Regions from separate parts of the Homo sapiens genome. Here region 2 is linked to region 1. Evidence: promoter capture Hi-C in 16 types of primary human blood cells and fetal thymus (Javierre and others, 2016). All regions are on one chromosome and are shown on one strand. The core of a region is centred on a gene start or on the middle of the fragment in contact, and the rest is flanking DNA. Distances in the headings are between cores, read along the strand shown. Region 1 holds the start of CSNK1A1L (casein kinase 1 alpha 1 like). Region 2 overlaps POSTN (periostin).

Evidence for each region. The method cuts DNA at HindIII sites, captures the fragments that hold promoters and counts their contacts. A CHiCAGO score of 5 or more calls a contact.
Region 2: a fragment that was not itself captured here is called in contact with the fragment with the promoter of CSNK1A1L in region 1 in 1 of 17 cell types (endothelial precursors); the score reaches 7.4 in endothelial precursors.

Annotation. Positions count from the first base shown.
Region 1 is chr13:37,102,886-37,108,852 of GRCh38, forward strand. CSNK1A1L (casein kinase 1 alpha 1 like) reads right to left here and starts at 2,779. Exons shown (of 1, transcript NM_145203.6): 1 at 374-2,779. The coding sequence starts at 2,371. The coding sequence ends at 1,358. The HindIII fragment of the contact is 4,821 bases long and covers 1-4,475 here.
Region 2 is chr13:37,567,499-37,573,130 of GRCh38, forward strand. POSTN (periostin) reads right to left here. Exons shown (of 23, transcript NM_006475.3): 18 at 3,871-3,960; 19 at 3,082-3,171; 20 at 2,246-2,323; 21 at 1,802-1,885. Among named protein-coding and RNA genes, the nearest start is that of POSTN, 28 kb to the right of the region's middle. The HindIII fragment of the contact is 7,922 bases long and covers 1-5,611 here.

The DNA.
Region 1 (5,967 bases), core at 1,529-4,028:
AAGAAAAGAACGTGCAAAAAGATTGAGAGGAAGAGCACGCACACACAGATAATTCAGAGAAGCAGACGGGGGTTAGGGAGGGTCAATGATCACAGAACCTCACAGTGTGCTCTCCAAGGGTAAAAGTCAACTGCTTATAGCCATTTCACAAGTATTTTAAACAACAATGTTTTGTAGTCAAACCCTTCAATGCTTGCATTCTTATTTGAAATCAGCCCAGCTATTAGTCAGTGGAAGAAGTAACAATACCAAGTTTTGGCAGGTGCAGTACTAGATATTTTACCACAAGTCATTAGAAAAAGAAAAATGAAAGAATACATTTCCCCTTCATACAAAACGATTATTTTAGAATAAAAACATTGAAAAAAGTTATATAATGAAATAAAATTTACTTGCAAGGGAATATCATGTAACAAATGGCTCGAAGTTGACTATCAAAAAATTGGGGAGATTTTTATTTCCTAGTGAATCAGCAAGGCATTTTTTGGTTGTTGTTTAAAAAAGTATTATTTCCTTATAGAAACAGTTTTCAGATTTTAGTGAACTTGTAAAACATAAAAGCTCCCATTTCAAAATATGAACAAAATCCCAGATCATATGGGTGTTTACGGTGATTACATTTATCTAAGCCATGTACATACATGTTCAGTTGTAAGATGTTAACTAAATTTCTGTGACAAATATGGTTGTTGTTGTTTTTAAAATACCGAGAACATGATATAGTTAATGTGGAATTCTAAAGATAATCTGGTAGTTACTAAGATTTTCTTATGTCTTCACAGGTAAGCAGGCGGAATCTTTCCTATTCTCAAAACTGGAATTTTTGGTTACTACTAGATCAGCTGGCTTACAGACAAGAAGCCAACCATTTTAAGAATGCTCTTTATGTGAACAATTTGCAAACCCCAGGGATGGAGAAACCCTAAAAATGCTCAATCATAAGCATTTACAACCTTTGCAGCTGTGGCTGAATACTGTCCTTCTGAAATGATATCTCAAAGCAGTCTAGTTCAAAATAAAAGGTTTTAACAAAAAATTGGCATATGGACAATGTCTCCACCAATTCGTGTGTGTCAACCATTTAGTTAACTTTTCTACTTGAATAAATGCAATAGAAAACCAGACACCACGTTTCACTACCTCAGTTAATATTCACAATTACAGAGGCTACACTTTGGGATACAGCATCACCAACGCTCCCCAGAGTCAGTTTATATTGAAATAAAGTTTTTTACACCAACTAAATGGTTGTTCACAGCCACTAGCTGGTGTACATATGAACTACAATTTCTAGATGTGGGGAGAAACAAATGCTGCTCGAATCATCTGCTCTGCTTCTTCTGTTCCTCATTCACGCTTAGTTATCTTTCACATTATTCTTGTTTTTTTCAGTTTGCTTGCCTGTCTGGGTTTGGGCCTGCTGACCCTGCCCACTGGAAGAGGCTGCCTGCTGTGCTGCTTTCTGCTTTAACATCGTCCAATCAAATGTGTAGTCATATTGGTGGTTCAGGGTCCTGAAAAGAATGCGGAATAGCTGCCTCAGATACATGTAATCTGGGACTTCCTCAAAGCGCAGCCCACGACAGTAGTTCAAGTACATGGCGAATTCTGCAGGAAACCCCTTACATAAAACTTCAACAGGGGTGGACATCTTCTTCTCACTAATCTTTTCATATTTTTGTTTTTTTGTCATAGCCCTTAGTCCTTGCCACGGCAGGCTGGTTCTATTAAAATACATGAAAACGTAGCCTAAGGATTCCATGTCATCTCGGCGGCTCTGCTCAATACCAAGATGTGCATTGATGCTGGCATATCGGACAGTGCCAATGAGGTGTTTATCTTCTCTGTACGGTATGTGTTGCCTGGTCCTGTTGTCTCTGTACTTTTTGGCCAAACCAAAATCAATAAGGAACAACTTATTACAGTGACGCCCAGTACCCATCAGGAAGTTATCTGGTTTAATGTCTCGGTGTAGAAAATTCTTTGTATGCACGTATTCAATTCTGCTGATCATCTGGTCGGCTAACATAAGTACAGTTTTCATGGTGAACCTTCTTGAACAGAAATTAAAGAGGTCTTCGAGGCTGGGTCCCAGAAGGTCCATGACTAGCACATTGTTGTCTTTTTCCTGACCATACCAGTGCATGTGGGGGATGCCAACCCCACCTTGAAGAATCGTGTAGAGTTTGCTCTCATACAGCAACTGGGGGTGCTTGACCTTCTGAGATTCCAGCTTCACTGCTACGTCCTCGCCGTTGGTGGTGGTGATGCCCAGATAAACGTCTCCAAAGGAGCCAGACCCGATCTTCCGCACCAGTTTGTATTTCCCTCCCACAACGAGTTCGGCTTTGGAGCCGCTGTTGTTTGTCATCCTGAGAGGCAAAGATGGAGGCTGGGCTCAGCCCTGACCCCTCTAGGGGAGGATGGAGGCCTCCGGGGCCCACCGGCCCGCAAGGCTGAGGATGAGGGCTGCTGGAAATGGCCACCGAGGCGTTTCCCGGTGTTACAGGGCGTGGAGTCAGCCTGATCCCTGCAGCACACCAGGATTTCCGCCAGGCCACAGTTTGCGAGGGTTTCTCAAGGTTCCAGGCTGGGCCACCACCTCTTTCTCGGTGGCGGTCGCTGCCTCGCTGTCGTGGCGATGTCGTGGGCTGAGAAAGGGGGCACAGCGAGTTGGGGCAGCAGTACTGCTGCCACCGCTACCAACGGCTGTGGGCCAGAGGGCCCGGTCACGCCGCCGGCGCCGCCATTTTGTTCCTCCACCTCAGCCAACCACAAATCGAGAATTTTTGGAGAAGCTGTTATTGTCTGAGACCTCTGTTAGGTGTTCCACTCATCTCACTCCATTTAAGACAAACTTGCTAGTCTTGTAAGGTAGCTATTATTTTCCCTGATTTGTTGGGTAAGAAAGGCTGAGTCTCAGGTAAGCGGCCTAAGGTTGCAAGAGATTGTGGGCGAGCTGGAATTCAAAACTGCCTAGGCTTAACTCGAAGCTCACCTTCTTTCAACTTAATCGTGCAGAAATGGGAGGCTTTTATAACAAAGATTTTCTTGTTTTCGGGCCCAGTCATTGTCCCATCTACTTCCTTAGCCATCATGTCTCCCTGGGTTAATGCGAGTCGGGGTGCCACCTCTTGAGGTTTTTCTGTGTGATCTCAGTGGTTGCTTCTTTAATGAGTTTAGTCAACAAGAGTTACTTACTGCTAGTTAAATTGAAATGTCTTTTTTTTTTTTTTTAAAGCGATCCTTTTGAAATTTTTTCATAGAGTGCTTTGAATTTAAATAGGATTCCACAGAGACGTTCTGGCAAAACTGACTAAATGAAGGATTCAAGTAAAATTTAACCAAAATATGGAGAAGAAACAGAAGCCGGCAGTTCTGAGCATTTTCTCAGAAGAACTGGGGCCAGCACTAGCAGAAAAAGCGGTACCATTTCAATATTTTTATGAAAGTTCACATCACAAATAACAAAACCCGTGCGATTATTTTGTTTTATGAGGAGATGGGATAGGAACTGAGTATAATCCTAACGGGGCAGTAGCAACGAATTTGGGGGCCAATGGCAGAAAGGCAGGAGAGAGAGGTGCAGCTTTGAAAGCAGGTATTCTCACTTTACTGTCTCACATAAGTTAGTGCTGTTAACTTTTCTGACCTGCATCAATCTATGGCGAGAGAAGGAGCTGGTTTGAGACATAGACGGGCATAGAACATTATAAAGTGCTTTAAAACATTTTTAAAGTCCACTTCAGACAAATATGTGAGGTGGGTAGCGCAGTATATTACTTGGCTTTGCAGCAGGAACAACTCGCAAATCTCAGTGGCTTACAATGACAAAGTTTATTTATCATTCAGGTTTTATGTAAGCTGTAGATCAGCTGCATCTCTGCTTCCTGTGTCCTCTTTGTTCTAGAATGCAGGCTGAAAGAGCAGCCTCCTTAGGAGCATGCTGTTCTCATAATAAAAGGAGTGGCAAATGTTACATTCCACTGGGCAAAACACATCACATGGCCAGGTCCAAAGACAGTGGGGTGAAAATACATACTCCTACCTCAGGTGGATAGTAATACAGTATACTGCTGGCATATTTTATTATTATGATTGTACTTCTCATTTTATACAAGTGGAAATCAAGGCATAGAGAGGTTAGATGAATTGCCCAAGACCACACTACAGACAAGTGTCAGAGGCCAATTTGAAACTGAATTCTGACCCAAGGTAGTTACTTTTTATACCGTACCAACTAGAATGGCATTTCTTTCATTTACTCATCCAACTTTGTTGAAATTTGCCTGGAGAACAATTTCCTTTCTAATAACCAAGAATAAAATTTATGTTGTTAACCCACTGCCCATTATGCTTCCTTCCCGTTCAGTCTTCCAGTCAATGGCTTCAACACGAACCTTGAAATTCAAATAATCTCTATGTGAGAGAAGTCACTATTCAAAAAAGTTACAGATAACCCATACATGGACAAAAGCTTGAATCAAAAAATCCCCTTTCAATTCTGGAACTAGAATAGTTTAATTATAGTTTATTTATTGTTTACTAAGTCCCATACTTTTTTGTACCAGTTAAATAAAGGCACTGTCTATAAAGAAGGTCAAGTGTAACTTATAATGGTGGTTGGGTGAACCTTCACTTACAGGGAAGTTGTGAGCATCTCCAGAATGGGGAGGATCAGTAACTGAAGTGATGATATGACCCTGAATAGCTTCCAATCCAGTCTCCCATGAATTCTCTTACCACAAGCCGGTGGGACTGCGGATTTTTCCCCGAACACATACTCCCTGCATTTTTTCATCTTTGGGTCTTGGCTTATGGTGTTGTTTCCTCAGCCTGAAATGCTTCCAGCCTGCTTTATCTTTCCCATCGCCCAGGTCTAATCCTAATAATCTCAGGGCTCTTCCTTAAATGCTGTTTGCTCCATGAAACCTTTTCCAATCTCCTCAACCAAATATAAATACTCTTTTTAAACCCAAACAACACTTTGCTTAAACTCTTGCATCCCCTCCTACCCTTTTGTCCAAAATTTTTCCATAAAAGATGTGCAACAAATAGTTTTTAAAATGGAAGTAAATTGAACTACTGTATTTCATAAAGTTTTGTGGACAGTGTGTGGGGTTGATGCATTCTTTATTTATTCATTCATTCAACAAATAGTTATTGAATGCCTCCTATTTGCAGGCATGAGTGACTCACCAAAGGTGGCATAGGTAGGTAATGATGGATTCAGAATGGAAATCCAGGATAGCCTGCCTCCAAAGCCAGTACTTTTAACCCCTACATAGACATCAACAGCCAGAGGCTCCTGAACGCTGGGTGGCTTCACTGTTGGGAATATATTAGTTCTGTTTCTTTTCTTTAATTGTATAAAGTATTTTACCAATGCATTTTAAAGCTATGATTTAGCCTTGATTTCAAAATTGCCTCTAAAATAATTTCTATTAATATAAGATGACCCCAGTAAAAGTAAAATAACGTATTCTGGGCAGGATTGTACTGGGTAGTATTGTACTGTTTAACAGCCAATTCGGGTTTTGTCAGTCCTGAACTTTATACAATTTTTTTTGTGGCCCTCTTTAAGAAAACAACAACAACAACAACAACAAGAACAACAACAAACAGGCATGAAATATTTAACTTAGGAAAAGAAATCATTGCAATTTACCTGAGTGTTAGAGGGTCAAGTCTTTTTTTTTATCCCCTAAGCTATCTTGATGCAATTGACCAGAAATTCTTACATAGAAATGCTTCCACATTGCAATCTGACTTCTCCTCCCCACCTGAAATACTTCACAACTCCTGTCCACTCCTAACACTTAGAAGGGACCTTGCAAAGGAGGCTTTATTCACTTCCCTGTAAGTCCGTGTCTGCTTTTGGCAATTAAGAAATGATACTCAAATGGCATTGGTTTTAGTCTCATATGAATTTTGGGGTTAATTTTCTGGGCTTCTTGGTATCTTTTC
Region 2 (5,632 bases), core at 401-2,900, 460 kb after region 1:
AAAACAAGCATGTCCAATTAATGCTGGTACTAGTAATTCTACCGCATATAGTGTTTTTCCTACAAAAAGCAAAACCTTGGAGAAATGATTTGATAAAAACTTTTAATTTTTTTTGTTTTTTCACAATGCTATAATAGTTGACGTGGCATTGTGAAAACCGATGCCTTACAGATATGTAGAGAGATCATACACTGGGAACTAAAGGAATAAACTTCTGGGATGATCAGAGGCAAGAGCTAAGAAAGGAGTTCATTAACTAAAAATTGAATGTCATATACTTAACTTGTAGCAGTTATATGTTTTCTTGGCTGAAGCAATTCTTTAGTATTTAACTGGATTTTTCATAGTGGCCTCAATAACAGGGGCTTATCAAAGGGGAAGAAAATATACTTACCTGAAATTTAATCCTAAATGAATTAAAGCAATATAAACTGATGCAGCTACTAATTTATTGATTCCCTAAAAAGCACTACCATTCTACAAAGCTGCTTACTATGGCAAGGACTGAAAGAAAAAAAAAAGAATTCAATTTAATCTTCATAATGTGTTTGTCTCTTCCCTCAAATCCTTAGATTTTTTTCCTAGCAGACAGTTGAGCATTTAGGGGTAGATAGTGAATTCTTTGTTAGATCCTACAGGAATCTTTGGTTCCGTTATGGCTCTGTTGTGCTATGTACTCTTAGAATTCTGGGAGGAAACTTGTATTTTTCAGACATATATATTTCTATTGAGGGAAAATTCAATCATTGGTTGAATTAAAAATTTTTAAACTATCACTGACAAGTTTCTAAATACTATTTAAGAGATTTTACGTTTATTAAACTACAGAATATAGAAATAATAATTGCTAAAAATATAGAAAGTCCCAAGATAATTTACATTTTCTTGGACATAGTGATACAGTTTTAAAAAGTATAAGCTGAAAAGCCATCTGGACTGTGTTTTGGATAAACATCAAACTTCAGTTATGTTTCTCAATTAATAGTATATTTCAAAGTGCCTATTTGGTTTTTCTAAAGAATATAAATACATGTTTCACAAAAAATAATTTTTCAGCTTAATTCTTTCCTTGTTAAAAAATGAAGTAGAAATTTGTTTATTCAAATGCCAATGATACAAATTATGTATCTATATAAACAACATCTTTGAATAATTACTATGTAGGGTTTGTGTAAGATTTTGAATTCTTTTTTTTTTGTTCTTAAGGTTCATTTAATGCCACAGACAGAGAACATTCCATAAAAGATTAAGATTAATTTTATATGCAAAATAACTTATATCTACAGGTATAGATTATCACTCAAACTGTTAGAAGAAACAGATATTCATTCCCAAGAATATAGTTTTGGAAAAGAATGTTACTAAATGCACTATTTTTGGCTATATCTATGTATAGAATTTAAAGACATGCCTTGATTGCTCTTATGGGGGCAGTGAATATAATTTTTTAAATATAAAAAGTATATCAAATTTGGGCTTGTTTAACAGCTAGCAATTTAACAATTATTTCCCTTTTGCATACTTAAAAGGCCCTTAAAATTATCTGAATCAAAGCAAAAAAAATATTCATTGCTCCCCAAACTTTATACCATAGAACTTTTTAAAGACTGTTTAAACTAGTAATCATTTCTTCATAACTATTAACTACCATTGAACCAATCCATCTATTAAGACAACAGTGGATGTTGTCTTTTTTTTTTTTAACCCAATTAAAAGAAAAAATCTGCTTGCTCAGTCTTTAAAAAGTTGAACTCAGTCACTAGAACCTGTTAAGGGGGTTAGTTGTTGTCCTTTTACTAACCTCCCTGAAGCAGTCTTTTAATTTCTTCATCTTCAAATAAATGACCATCACCACCTTCAATGAATTTGGTGACCTTGGTGACCTCTGAGAGGATACATGTTTATAGCAGAAATTGGTTTATATAACAAAATAAAGACAGCAGACTTTATGTCATAAATAATGGCATCTGCCCAATAATGAATTCCAGCCCAACACTCGATTCTTTCACAAATTTTAGTGCTGTTTTCTGACATACTAATATTCTTATAAAGTTGTTGAACAAAATACTGTATAAAAAATATGACTGCCATTTATGCTTAATTCCTTATTCTTGTGCTTTTTTCTTGTTGGTATGGAAATGAACAATAGATTGAGATAGAGTAGAAAACATGTAGAATGTTATTTTAGACTTGTATATGGATAGCTTAGGTAAAGTCACATTCTTATTTTCCTAGAAATGCTGACCTTCTTGTAACAATTTCTTCAGAGTTTCTTCTGTTTCTCCACCTCCAGTAGAAATCCTAGTGTATTTTATTTCAGGACCTATGAGAAGGACAATGAAAAAGGTCTAAAACAGAAGTAGGCAAACTTCTTCTGCGAAGTGACAGAGAGTAAGTATTTTACACTTGTGGGCCATGTAGTCTGTGTTGCCATTGTTCAACTCTGATACTTCAGTGTGAAAGCAGCCTTAGGTATTATATAAATGGATGGGAAAGACTGTGTTCCGATAAAACTTTATTTCCATAAATGGGTGGCACAAGCCACACTTGCTCACTAATTGTTTAAACAAATACTTAAAGAATAGCTGAATTAAGGATTTTCGGCGAATTTTAGGCTAATTTGGACCAACTGGACGCTAGTTTGGAAGTCTGATATGAGGTTTACTGAAAATATTGATCAATTGCTTTGTATAAACTTGCTTCTATTTTGGCAGGTAGATGTACAGACCTTAAGATTAATGGAAGCTCAAATGAGGAAATGGCTTTTCTTCTAGGGTCCTCTAACTCATTAACAAACAGTAAAGTGAAAATGGAATATCATATCAATGGTATATCATATTACATGTATGTATGCATACATGTAATAAAAACAAATGCTTTTAGATTTGTCTACAAATTTTCAATTCAGAGTAAAACATAGATTACATATTTAGAATAATATTATATCTGCCAAAATATGAAGTAACTTTAGTAATCACTATGAAAATGACTTGTTTCTTTAATGATTCTTATATTTGGGGATTAACTATAATTTGATCTTTATAATCTAGGCATAGATCCATGTATGGAATTAATGGCTACCTGTAATGATTCGTTCTTCTCGTGTCTCTTTTTCAGTTATTTCCACAGGCACTCCATCAATGATTTTGGTGTATTTTTTAATAATTGGCTCTAAAAGCAGGGGAATACAAATGCATTTGATTTACCCTCATATTGTGACTATACATCCATAAGCTAGACATTGTAATGATTAACTATATTTCTACAAATATTACCATTTAAGATTCAATCATAAACATTTTTAGAACATATCCCCCAAAAATCATATCAATAGGGATCTAAAAGGTAATAGCTATGTCCTGAATCTTGGTTGAGAGAGAGGGCCATTTGACATCCTAACTCTCCATGTCATACTTGTTTTCTGGATGTGGAATAAATACTTAGTGAGAATCCAGGGAGTTCTATATCATTGGAATGGGAGCCCTATCATAAATCCTAGTAGTGGAGTGGCTTATTAGACAGAGACTTATACAATGGTCATTTTTTCCTACTGTTTCTAATATTTCCTTTTATACTGACATTAATGTTACAATTTTATTCCACAATCCTCACTTGTATATGCAAAAATCATGACATTTTGTTGGGCCCAGTGACTTAATAGATAAATTAATTCCAACTAGATCCATTAAAAGCTAACTATGTTTTATTTCTGACCAGCTAATAAGAACTCATAGCTGAGGAAATAATTCCCACAATTTTTATAAAATAAGAACTAAGAGAAAATATCAGATGTTCAATATTTCTAAACCAACACTATTTCAAAATAATCACAGCGAAGGTAGTCGGCCCCAGGTAACATAAGGAACGCACCTCCATGGATCACTTCAGTTATTGTTTCACCTTCTTTAATCAGTCTGAATTCAGGTTCACCTTCAATTTTGACTTTTGTTAGTGTGGGTCCTGGGACATTATTTTAGGAGACAAATTATCATGTTAAAACAGTCCTTTAAATTTACCGGAATAGGACATTTATTTCAACATTCGGTGTGACTCAACTCAAATGTCAAAGTGGTTTCAGGCTCTATGAAATCACTTTTAAATATTTCCCATTGTCTTCAAATTAGACAAGAGTTATGAGAACAAATGATTTAGTCTGTTTGTGTGCTACTAAAATTACTTTCATCTGCTTTAGCTTTTAAACAGATGGATAAATCCATCTGTTTATTCGTAGTTATAAAGTATGATTATGCAAAATATTATATGTGGCTACACTTTGCAGATCATGCAGTATGTACACATTTGTGTTTCTCTGATAACTGGTGTAGATCCCACTTTATCATACTGATATTGTCTATTACTTTTTCCTTATTAAAATTTTTCATTTAAGTTTTAAAATCACTCAGTACCTTATATTTTTGATCTAGTGGGTATAGGAGTGAACATAAGAAAGTACCAAATGTATACCTACCTTTAAGATGCTGAATGTCAGGTTTTATGAGGAAAATAATTTGAGTACTTACCTTCTGTATGGGAATGATACACAATTAACCAGTTAATAGTTAAACAGTCCTTCAAATGCAAAAGATAAACTAGTGTTGCATTTGACTTGCAAAATGATTTTGCTACCACAGAAAATCATTTTGAAGGTTAGAAAGCTGCTTACTACATTAGTTAATTAAGACTGTTTCACAGAGGAGTAAGAAAAATAAGTTCAGTACATTTAACTCATACTGTAATAGCCTTCAATAGTGGAATGCAACTGTTGCTTGCTTATCTTTGAGAGCATTTTTTTTTGCTTGTTCAGAAATTGTCAATGTACATGATTACCAAAACGAAACCAGCCTAGAACAATCCAAAATAATGAAAATAAAAGTAAAGTTTTTTGAAACCATAAGTATTTCATGCCATAATATTTGATATATAAGGCCAAGGGATATTGAGCACAAAACATAAAGCCAGGTTTTTAAGGTGCGGTAACTTCAAAAGAAAGGACGCCTAAGGAATTTAAGAACCAAAAATGCGTTAATAAAATATCTAAATCAATATTTCTTTAGAAAAGCCAAACTGAAATTTTGGAAACATCCTTTATAGTTAAGCTCTATAAAAGAAGAGATTTTCTCAAAATTGTTTTCCTATTTACTCCCAACACCTCAGAAAGTACCCAGCAGAATAGCTGCTCAATAACTATTTGTTGAATTGAATTTTAGCTGATTTATTCTTAATTCCAAAATGCTGTTATGTATCTTTTATAAGAGACACCTTAAAATTGTGTCCTGGAGTTTAATTCATTTAGTAAGAATTTAAAAGTCATCAATAAATCTGTAATTGTTCAAATAGTAAGAAGGAAATGCCAGTAGCAATCCTGGAAGCTGGACCATTGTAAATTACTACTAAGATAAATATTTGTTTCCTTCATTATGCTACACAGGAGTGTAATTTCTGAACTCAAGTTATTAATGAGTAGGTGACACAACTCCATTTTTCATCCATGTTCCCTTTATAAGAAGAAGCCATGTAGAGATGACCCGCCAGTATGATCTTAACTGAATAAAGATTAGTAGGATAGAATCCTACTGACAAAGATTGAGGAGATAAATAAGTTGAATAAAGAAGCTTCAAAGGAGAAGAATCT